Regions from separate parts of the Homo sapiens genome. Here region 1 is linked to region 2. Evidence: promoter capture Hi-C in human tissues and cell types (Jung and others, 2019). All regions are on one chromosome and are shown on one strand. Each heading gives the region's core, a stretch centred on a gene start or on the middle of the fragment in contact. The rest is flanking DNA. Distances are from core to core; before and after follow the strand shown.

Evidence for each region. Contacts are between HindIII fragments. The study calls those that stand out against the background at their distance.
Region 1: a contact is called between a fragment that was not itself captured here and the fragment with the promoter of SV2C in region 2, in 3 of the 25 tissues and cell types used here (bladder, mesendoderm cells and stomach).

What each region holds. Positions count from the first base shown.
Region 1 is chr5:75,977,417-75,983,008 of GRCh38, reverse strand. It overlaps a transcript of SV2C not described here. Among named protein-coding and RNA genes, the nearest start is that of SV2C, 100 kb to the left of the region's middle. The HindIII fragment of the contact is 9,346 bases long and covers 1-5,592 here.
Region 2 is chr5:76,081,291-76,086,906 of GRCh38, reverse strand. SV2C (synaptic vesicle glycoprotein 2C) reads right to left here and starts at 3,524. Exons shown (of 13, transcript NM_014979.4): 1 at 3,395-3,524. SV2C-AS1 (SV2C antisense RNA 1) reads left to right here and starts at 3,490. Exons shown (of 2, transcript NR_183290.1): 1 at 3,490-3,988; 2 at 4,511-5,501. RefSeq lists an enhancer at 4,160-4,713. The HindIII fragment of the contact is 16,764 bases long and covers 1-5,616 here.

The sequences.
Region 1 (5,592 bases), core at 467-2,966, 100 kb after region 2:
TTATTTTTCCTAATCTTCTTCCTCCAACTATTCACCCTCCCCCCTCCAAAAGGCTCCAGTGTGTGTTGTTCGCCTCTAAGTGTCCATGTGTTCTCATCATTCAGCTCCCACTTATAAGTGAGAACATGCGGTGTTTGGTTTTCTGTTCCTGCATTAGTTTGCTAAGGATAGTGGTCTCTAGCACCATCCATGTCCCTGCAAAGGACATGATCTTGTTGTTTTTTATGACTGCATAGTATTCCAGGGTATATATGTGTCACATTTTCTTTATTCAGTCTATCATTGATGGGCATTTAGGTTGATTCCATGTCTTTGCTATTGTGAATAGTGCTACAATAAACATACATGTGCATGTGTCTTTATAACAGAATGATTTATATTCCTTTGGGTATATACCCAGTAATGGGATTGCTGGGTGGAATGGTATTTCTGTCTTTAGATCTTTGAGGAATCACTATATTGTCTTCCACAATGGCTAAACTAATTTACACTCCCACCAACAGCATAAAAGCATTCCTTTTTCTCCACAATCTCACCAGCATCTGTTGTGTTTTGACTTTTAAATAATAGCCATTCTGGTGGGTGTGAGATGGTATCTCATTGTGGTTTTGATTTGCATTTCTCTAATGATCAGTGATGTTGAACTTTTTTTATATGATTGTTGGCCATGTGTATGTCTTCTTTTGAGAAGTGTCTGTTCACGTCCTTTGCCCACTTTTTAATGGAGTTGGGTTTTTTTCTTGCAAAACTGTTAAATTCTTTTTTTTTTTCTTTTTATTTTTTTAATTAAGTTTTAGGGTACATGTGCACATTGTGCAGGTTAGTTACATATGCATACATGTGCCATGCTGGTGCGCTGCACCCACTAACTCGTCATCTAGCATTAGGTATATCTCCCGATGCTATCCCTCCCCCCTCCCCCCACCCCACAACAGTCCCCAGAGTGTGATATTCCCCTTCCTGTGTCCATGTGATCTCATTGTTCAATTCCCATCTATGAGTGAGAATATGCGGATGCTGAATATTAGACCCTTGTCAGATGTATAGTTTGCAAAAATTTTCTCTCATTCTGTAGGTTGTCTGTTTCCTCTCTTGATAGTTTCTTTTGCTGTCCAGAAGCTCTTTAGTTTAATTAGATCCCATTAATCAATTTTTGCTTTGGTTGCAATTGCTTTTGGAATCTTCGTCATGAAATCTTTGCCTGTGCCTATGTCCTGAATAGTATTGCCTAGGTTGTCTTCCAGGGTTTTTGTAGTTTTGGGTTTTACATTTAAGTCTTTAATCCATCTTGAGTTGATTTTTGTAAATGGTGTAAGGGAAAGGTCCAGTTTCAATCCTCTGCACATGGCTAGTGCAGTTATCCCAGCACCATTTGTCAAATAGGGAGTCCTTTCCCCATTGCTTGTTTTTGTCAGGTTTGTGGCATATCAGATAGTTGTTGGCGTGTGGTCTTATTTCCGGGTTCTTTATTCTGTTCCATTGGTCTATGTACCTGTTTTTGTACCAGAACCATGTTGTTTGTTTACTGTAGCTGTATAGTATAGTTTGAAGTTGGGTAGTGTGATGCCTCCAACTTTGTTCTTTTTGCTTAGGATTGCCTTGGCTACTCAGGCTCTTTTTTGGTTCCATATGAATTTTAAAATAGTTTTCTCTAGCTCTGAGAAGAATGGCAATGGTAGTTTAATGGGAAGAACACTGACACTATAAATTGCTTTGGGCAGTATAGACATTTTAATAATATTGATTCTTCCTATCCATGAGCATGGAATGTTTTTCCATTTGTTTGTGTAGTCTCTGATTTGTTTGAGCAGTGGTTTGTATAGTTTACTTTGTAGAGATCTTTCACCTCACTAGTTACCTGTATTCCTAGGTATTTTATTCATTTTATGGCAATTGTCAGTGAGAGTTTGTTCCTGATTTGGCTCTTGGCTTGACTGTTCTTGATGTATAGGAATGCTAGTGATATTTTTGCACATTGATTCTGTATCCTGAGACTTTGCTGAAGTTGTTTATCAGCTTAAGAAGCTTTTGGGCTGAGAGTATGGGGCTTTCTAGCTATAGGATCATGTCATCTGCAAACAGGTATAGCTTGACTTCCTCTCTTCCTATTTGGATGCTCTTTATATCTTTCTCTTGCCTGATTGCCCTGGCCAGGACCTCCAGTACTGTGTTGAATAGGAGTGGTAAGAAAGAGCATCCTTTCCTTGTGCCGGTTTTCAAGAGGAAAGGCTTTCAGCTTTTTCTCATTCAGTATGATGTTGGTTATGGGTTTGTCATATATGGCTCTTATTATTTTGAGGTATGTTCCTTCAATACCTAGTTTATTGCAAGTTTTTAACATGAATGGACATCGAATTGTATTAAAAGCCTTTTCTACATCTATCGAGATAATCATATTTTTTTTCCTTTAGTTCTGTTTATGTTGAATCACATGTATTGATTTGTGTATGTTGAACCCAACTTGTATCCCGGGGATGAAGCCTACTTGACAGTGGTGGATAAACTTTTTGATGTGCTGTTCGATTTGGTTTGCCAGTATTTTGTGGAGGATTTTTGCCTTGATGTTCATCAAGGATATTGGCCTGAAGTTTTCTTTTTTTGTTGTATCTCTGCCAGGTTTTGGTATCAGGACAATGCTGGCCTCATAGAATCAGTTAGGGAGGAGTCCCTCCTTTTCAATTTTTTGGAATAGTTGCAATAAGAATAGTACAGTCTTCATTGTCTGTCTGCTAGAATTCAACTGTGAATCTGTATGATCCTGAGCTTTTTTTGGATGGTAGGCTATTAATTACTGCCTCAATTATAGAGCTCTTTACAGGTCTGTTCAGGGATTCAATTATTCCTGGTTCAGTTTTGGCAGGATGTATGTGTCCGAGAATTTATCCATTTCTTCTAGATTTTCTCGTTTATGTGCATAGATATGTTCACAACATTCTCTGATTGTGTGTATTTCTGTGGAGTCAGTGGTAATATCTCCCTTATCATATTGATCGTGTTTATTTGCGTCTTCTGTCTTTTCTTATTAGTCTAGATAGCAGTCTATGTATTATTAATTTTTTCAAACAAACAGCTCCTGGAATCACTGATCTTTTGAATTTTTTGTGTGTCTCTATCTCCTTCAGTTCAGCTCTGATTTTGGTTATTTCTTGTCTTCTGCTAGCTTTGGGATTTATCTGCCCTTGGTTCTCTAATTTTTTTAGTTGTGATGTTAGGTTGTTAACTTGAGATCTTTCTAACTTTTTGATGTGGACATTTAGTGCTATAAATTTCCCTCTTATCACTTCCTTAGCTGTGTCCCAGAGATTCTGGTATGTTGTATCTTCGTTCTCATTAGTTTCAAAGAACTTCTTGATTTCTGCCTTAATTTCATTATTTACCCAAAAGTCATTCAGGATCAGGTTATTCAGTTCCCATGTAATTGTAAGGCTTTAAGTGAATTTCCTAGTCTTTATTTCTAATTCATTGTGCTGTGATCCCAGAGGCCGTTTGCTATGACTTCAGTTCTTTTGCATTTTCTGAGGAGTGTTTTATTTCCAATTATGTGATCAATTTTAGACTAAGTGCCATGTGATTATGAGAAGAATGTATATTGTGTTGTTTTGGGGTGGAGAATTCTGTAGGCATCAGGTCCATTTGATCCAGTGCTGAGTTCAGGTCATGAATATTTCTGTTAATTTTCTGTCTCAGTGATCTGTATAATATTGACAGTGCGGTGTTAAAGTCTCCCACTATTACTATATGGAAGTCTAACCCTCTTTAAGGTCTCTAAGAACTTGCTTTATGAATCTGGGTGCACCTGTGTTGGGTGCATATATATTTAGAACAGTTAGATCATCTTGTTGAATTGAACACTTGACCATTATGTAATGCCCTTCTTTTTTTATCTTTGTTGATTTAAAGTCAGTTTTGTCAGAAACTAGGATTGCAATCCCTCCTGCATTTTTCTGCTTTTCATTTGCTTGGTAGATTTTCCACTATCTCTTTATTTAGAGGCTACGTGTGTCATTGCATTTTTATTTTTTTTCTTGAGACAGGGTCGTGCTTTGTTGCCCAGGCTGGAGTGCAGTGGCATGACCTCAGCCCACTGCAACCCCTGCCTCCCAGGCTCAAGCAATCCTCCTGCCTCAGCCTCAAGCCATCTATCCTCCTAAGCCTCAAAGTGGTGGAATTACAGGTATGAGCCACTGCACCCAGCCCTGACATGAGTCTCTTGAAGACAGCATACGAATGGGTCAGACCCTCTTTACTTGAAATATCTTTCACCTCTTTCAAGGTATTTGGCAATTTCTCTCCATTCAGTTGCAGTGTGTTGTGTGTGGTACCAACATGAGTAATAGCCACTGTACATATAACTGAACTAAATTATTAATAATCTAAACAATAATATATTTAAATTTTTGTGGAAACATATATATTTGTGTGGATAAGAGCAACTACTTCATTACCCCTTCCTAGATGACAAAGATTATAAGATGGGCATCAATTGTAAGACACAGCCCAATTTCAAATGCAATAAAGTGTGAAAAACAGTGTGTCTTAGAATTGATGGAATATAATAAATTTTAGAGTGATTAGACTACAGAAGATATTTGAGGACACGTGACTATTTGACATTGTCTATGTGGTTAGAGTATGTAGAAGAGAGGTCTCAGAGCCAATCCCTGAGACATTTCAATATTTGGAGAATAAGAAGGAGAGGAATATCCAGCGAAGAAGAGCTACAAAGTACAGCTAGTGTGGTATAAGGAGGGCCAAGAGAAATGGTGTTGCATAGCCTAAGAAATCACTCAAAAATTGGGAGCAGCCAGGTGAGTCAGAAGCTGTTGATAGATGGAATAAGAACAGGACTGAGAATTGACTCTGCTATGCAGCAATATGGGGGTCATTGGTGACCTTGGCAAGAGCAATTTTGGTGAAGTGGTAGGGGGCAAATGCTTAACAGGCATGGTTCCAGACATAATCAGAGGTCAAAATATACAAAAGGTGGTTAAAGACAACTTTTTAAAGGAGTTTTGCTGGAAAGGGGTGCTAAGCAACTGAGCAGTAGCTGGAGAGTGATGACAGCCCAGGAATGGCTTTTTGAAATGGAAGCTACCATACAGTGTTTGCATGTTAATGGGAATGGTCCAGCAGAGCAGGAAAATGTGATAATTCGAGAGGAGAGGATAAGTGCAAGAGTGATGTCCTTAACTAGGTGAGGGAGGATATGAGCCAGTGCACAAAGGAAGGGATAGGCTATGGCTAAGACCAAGGGCAGTACATCCATTAGGCAGGCACGAAGGCTGTGCATGTGTTGGCAGATGCACTGCCGGAAGTATATGGAAGCTTGCCTTTGATGGGTTCTTTGTTCTGAGTGAGGCTCCCTTTCAGCCCGCTATGGGTGAGGAGAAGGCTCTTCTTTGAAAGGAACAGAACACATGGACTAGAGCCTCCAGTGGTTTCTTGGTAGTGCTAAAAAACAAAATTTCAACAAATTTAATTTAAAGGTCTAATTGGCTTTTAATAGTGATTAATGAATCAGGCAACATCTCATCCATAAAATAGGAGTTCCAGTGAACTGAGCAGAGGAAGTGGACTTTCTGTAAAGGCAAG
Region 2 (5,616 bases), core at 2,275-4,774:
GTGCAAATACTACTGCTGTCCCTAATTAGGAGGGGTTGTTTGTAATAAAATAAAATTGTGTTTTAGTATCCCATTAAGACATATTTCTAGCAAGAATTAAAATCGTAACTTCATTCCCATTGTTATTTTTAGCTGTCTCAAATAAAGAAAAAACCTCCAAATTCAAACCACTGCAACATTTTACACTGGTTGCTCAACTGTGCAGAGATTGAAAAAGCAAAGCAGAGATTGAAAACAATGTGGCAATGTTGCATCAAAACTATATATGCCAGGGGCTGCCTTTCCTGGGTTTACAAACAGACTTCATTGAAATGATGAGTTTGTGTTTAAATGGAGAATACTATGTATGCTGTGAACCACAGTCAAACAGGAACCTCACCAACATGGAACCAAGAAATACGCTGGTGTATTGAAGGTTTTCCCTTGATATAGCTGCACAGAAAAAGAGGCATTTTGCTTTCACTACTCACAGAAATCTACCGTCATCTGGAGTAATATGAATAACAACAGTGGGCTGGTTAAGGAGCCATTTTGACAAATCACATGCTTTTATTCATACAATATGTCATCAAGTTTGCTTAAGAATAAGAGATAACACTCCTAATTATAGGAAATGGGTTTTCTGGTACTTGTCGTCACGTGATATATTGCACATTATGATGCCTTTGCCGTAATCTCCTGGAGACTGGGAACTGGATCCTATTATTTGAAGCATTTCCACACTTAAGGAATATGATAGGGTTAATAATGAATAGGAGTTTTACTACAAGCTGTTAGGCCAGTCTGCTGCTCAGATCAGAGAAGCTACTTTCACTGTCATTGGGTCATGAAAAATAAAGCTGATTTCTCCACTACATGAACAAAACACTCAGATGTGATCCAGAGCTTCTTTTTTTCCTTCTCCAGACAGTCAGTAGCTAATGGCATTGGATTACATATTAGACTGTTAGGAAAAGTCTGCTGTCTGCATTTGCTCACATTGAGGGCCAAATTTCATTAAAAAAACAATGCTGGGAAAAGTCTCTAGAATTTTTTAAAAGAAAATTCTGTGTGTGTGTGTGTGTGTGTGTGTGTGTGTGTAGGGGCTTTGTTTGCTAATATTTTCCATTCATGGAAAATTTGTATTTCCAAAGCCAAAGCTCTCTGAGATTATCTCTTTTGTCTTCAAAACAACCCTGTAAGGTACATAAGAGCTAGTATAAGCTATTTTTCACAATTCTCAGAGGTGGAAGATGAACCCAAGAGGGTGAGTAACCTGCCCAAGGTGACATAACACAATATTTGGGGAAATGGTGACTAGCATCTGTGTCTCTGGGTTCCTTGATAATTGCTTTTCTTCCTCCCTCCCTTCCTTTCTTTCTTTTTTCCCAACCCCGTCCCCTTTCATTCATTTTGCCTACATACTGCAGATTTGGGCTCCTTCAGTAAAGCCAGTAGAAAAACTTTGTCACTGGGTTTCCAGAAAGTGGTCTTTAAAAAAAAGAATAAAATGGATCGTGGATTTGATTTATTATTTTCCACCAGAGAATGCGTTATCAGTAGTGTTTTTTAACGCGTATTTTTATGCCATGAAAGAGGAATGCGGCATATTGTTTTGTAAGACATTCTTAAACCTCACTTAGAGGCCAGGCCTCCTGCCAAAAATCCTGCAGAATGGTGGCGCAACGGGTTGGCACTACAGAACCTCACGAACCTCAACACCTAGGCGTTCACATGAAAACTTCCCACGAGCACGAGGCCTTTCGGAACTTGCCATGGAAAATGAGTGAACGCCTGAGAGATTAATGCCACATTCTTCAGAATTAAGGATAAGAATTAAACGGAAGCTACCGCGCTAGCAGTCAGCTAAGTATGAAGGGATTAGGTTCAGCGGGAGAGGAGACCATCACGGCATCCCGGTCTCATCTCCTTAAGGCTCTCATGAGCCTTAAAAGACGCCTCATCTCCTCGGTCCCCCGGGGAGCGCCCGGTAGCTGCGGCTCCTTCCCGGCACTGCGGCGCACTGCGGAGCCGCCTGCCCGCCAGCCCAGGCCGTGCGGGGCTTTCCTCGCCGCCCCGCGCCGCCGCAGTCCTCCCGCCCCCCTCTGCCCCGCCGGGTCGCCGCTCTCCGCGCCAGGCGCGCCGCGGGGCATCCATCAACCCAGAGCTTTTGACGCACACACGCGCGCTCCCAGACGGAGACTCCGTCGCCTGCCCCCGCCCGCCACCCCCGCCCGCCCCTCGCGGGTCTGCATTTGCATCACTCGCACACGTAGAAGGTGACGCGAGCGCCCCCAGCTCAGGCCGTCCAGGCGGCACCTCTAGCCCCCGTGGCTCAGCCCCTCCCCCCGCCCCCGCGCGCCGCCTAAGGTCCCCGCACGCCCACAGATCTGCTCCCGATTGTTCATCTGCCGTGGGGTGCTGGCTGCCCCAAGCCAAGTTCATCCCCGTATTCCGCAGTCCCCGTGGGCCCAGCCCGGGGCGCTCCCCGCGACGCTCTGGAGAAAAGTCTTCCCAGTTCTAGAACCCAGGCGGAAGGGGAAAAGCCCACTAAGAGAAAGGGTCAGAGGGTCGGCTGATGGCTTTTGCTGCCCTCATCGCCATCTAAGATTACCTCGGTAGCTTATTTACTGCGATTGGTCCCTCTCCCCTCTGAGCTTCACAGCCTCGGGTCTGCTTCGCCTGGCCTGGCGCACAGCAGGCGCCCAAAAGGTTTTTGCTGAATGAAGGCGTTGTAACGTAGGAAGTGCAGGCGCTGACAAAGAGCCTCAGCCCCGCGGGCTCCCCTGCTCTCCAGCCCTCTCTTGCTCTCTCTTAGACGCCAGACAGGCGCTTCGGGAATGTATGTGGGAGAGTTTGAAAATTCATGGTGTTTCTTTCAGGCTCTCTCAGCACTTACTGCGGCTACCTCTGCTCTCCCGCCACCTGCACGTCTGCAGAGGGATCCCCGCCGAAAAGTTGAGCCTAAGGCAGCTATGAAGGTATAGGTCCAGGTACCCAGCCCGGGGCTCTAGGCTGCTAGATTTGAATCTGCCTATCCCTGCCGGTCAAACCACACAAGCAAAAAAGAGCGTGGCGGTCGCTGCAGATGCGGCCCCTGCATCCCCGCTGCTGCCCACCCACCTCCTCTGGGAATCCCAGATAAAGTGCGACCCAGTCCCCAGACCTACCCTAGCGAACCCTGGGGTCACTGCATCTATTTTACCCCTACTTTCCTGGTCCCTCTCCAACAAAGGCGCCTACAAAGCAGCGGGCACCTGCAGCCGCTTCCCCGGGGGCAGGCGGGGCAAAGTTGCGCTTCCGAAAGGCTGCAAAAACTTCCCCAGGCTGCAGCGCCCGGCCACCAGTCGGGAAGAGAAATCCAGCAGCGGGGGAAAGTCTCCCCGCGGATGCCCGCTTCACCTCCCCCACTCACCGCTCCAGCCGTCGGACACCCTTGCCCTGAGTGGTGTCAGCACTGCAGCCGCCTCAGTGCGGGCGCCGCTCCGGCTCGCTTCCCCGGGCTGCCTCCGTCTGCCACTCTCGCCTGCAGCGCGCGGAGTGGTGACTCCTCTGAGCGTGTCAGCGGCGAGAGGAGGGGCGGGAAAGTGGCTCCCGGCTTGCACGCTGCGGTCCTCCTCCTCTCCTCCGCCTGCCTCCTCCCCCTGGTGCTGCAGTGCCGGGCGGCGGCGTGGCGAGAGTACCAGCGGTGCGCAGGGAGTCACGGCGCGCGGGGGAGGCGGGACCCGCGCGCCACTCGCGGTGCTCCGGCAAGTCGCGGTGCTGAGGCGCTGCTGCGGTGTGGGACTGGGGCAGGGGGCGGGGAAGGAGAGCCACCTCCAAGTGGTAGGTACTTCTGGAGAAGTCAGGGCTCTGAGTTTGTAGCAGGTGAAGGAGAGGGGCGGCAGTCCTTAATTAGTCACCAACTGTGACTGTGCGTTGCGCACTTGGCGGCGCCCCGGGTCAGGTCCAGCGTGAGACGCGAGGGAGTTCTGACTGCTGGACTCTGTTAGCACCGGACAAAAAGAGGGTTTGTATTCTATTTCCGGGCCTGGGACTGACTTGTTCACTTCGACTTGGCTTCCAGGGAGCAACCAGGCAGAGCTAGGTTGCCTACTTCCCCCAGCCCCCACCCCGACGCTGGAAGACAAGTCCAGAGGAAACTTGGGCACAGCAAGAGCAAACAGAAGAAAACTTCGCTGGGTTAAGTCTACTGTCTCCCCAATGCTACATAGGGCCAGACAGCTGGGCTCACAGGCAGATATTGAAAGTGGCCCCTTAGAGGGGAAACAACCAAATATGAGGGGGGGGGGGTGGAGAGAGAGATAGAGAGAGAGAGAGGAGGAGGAGGAAGAAAGAAAGAAAGAAAGAAAAAGAGAAAGAAAGAAAGGAGGAGGAGGGAGAAAGAGAGAGGAGAGAAGAGAGAGAGAGAGGGAGAGAGAGAGAGAATTTTGCTTGTGTTGTTAGAAACAAACATTTCTCCCCTTGGCGTGCAGGAGAGAGAATTTTGCTTGTGTTGTCAGAAACAAACATTTCTCCCCTTGGCGTGCAGGAGACCCCAACTCGAGCTTCACTGTTCCAAAGCGGTGGGCCAGGCGGCTGGAGAGAAACTCGCTCCCGTGAGGCCACACCCAGGCCTGGCGCACCCACCCCGCGGCAGCAGTGGAGGGCGTCGCCCTCCCGGGCCTTCCGACGCAGACCCTGCCATCCGGATGCTGCGGGAAGTAGGGCATCCTCACGTCCCTGACTCCTCCGGCTCCGCGCGCTCACGGAACCCAAGTGGAGTGGGAAGCGGTCACACAGGCGTGTGCCGTCCCCGAAATCGTTGCTCCTGTGGTGGTGACCCAAAGCGAGACAAAGCGCCGCGCCAATACGGGCTGCAGTGATTGGAACTCAAACACACACATCTCTCCGCGAATGTGTTCCATCCGTGTAAATATGCCTGGGTGATTGAATGGATGGCTGAATGAACGCTGTGTGGATAGAAATATAAATGTTACATGTATAATACAGGCGCCGGGGAAGGAGAGCTGTCAGGCACCCCCAGGCTGGAGCCTCCTGCCCAGAGGAGCCGGTGGAGACAGGCGGTTCGCCCAGGGCGGTGTTGTTAGCTTGGGCTTTCCAGTTCGATTTGTGCCACTATGCAGGATACTGTGAAGAGAAGAAAATGGAGACAACTCTTGGCCTCTCATTTTCCCTCCTCTCTGGTTCAGACACTCTGGCACTAAAAGTTATGATTCTCATGTGCTGTTGAACCTACACTTCCTTGCTGGTCTGTCTTGTTCCGGTGAGAGGCTTTGCAGTCTGTGACCATGGTGCTATGAGATGGTCAGGCAATATGAAAATTAGTGAACGTGCTCATTTTCATTTCGTGGATTCTTCTTAGTAAAATAATTATTTAAATAGTTAAATAATTTAAATAGTTAAATAATTTAAATAATTATTTAGGCTAAAATTAATGTGCTGCTACTATGACAAGGAAGTGCCTATGAATCCAGCATTGGAAATACAATTGTGAAATTAAAAAATAAATCCTATCTGGATTCCCCGCATGTTATTTATAAAAATTTGAGCTTCCAACTGCAAAATGTGCTGGCAATTCACTGAGTTCTCAAACGGTTACCTTTTTGAGAACCTCCCCTAAACTGTTGCAGAATA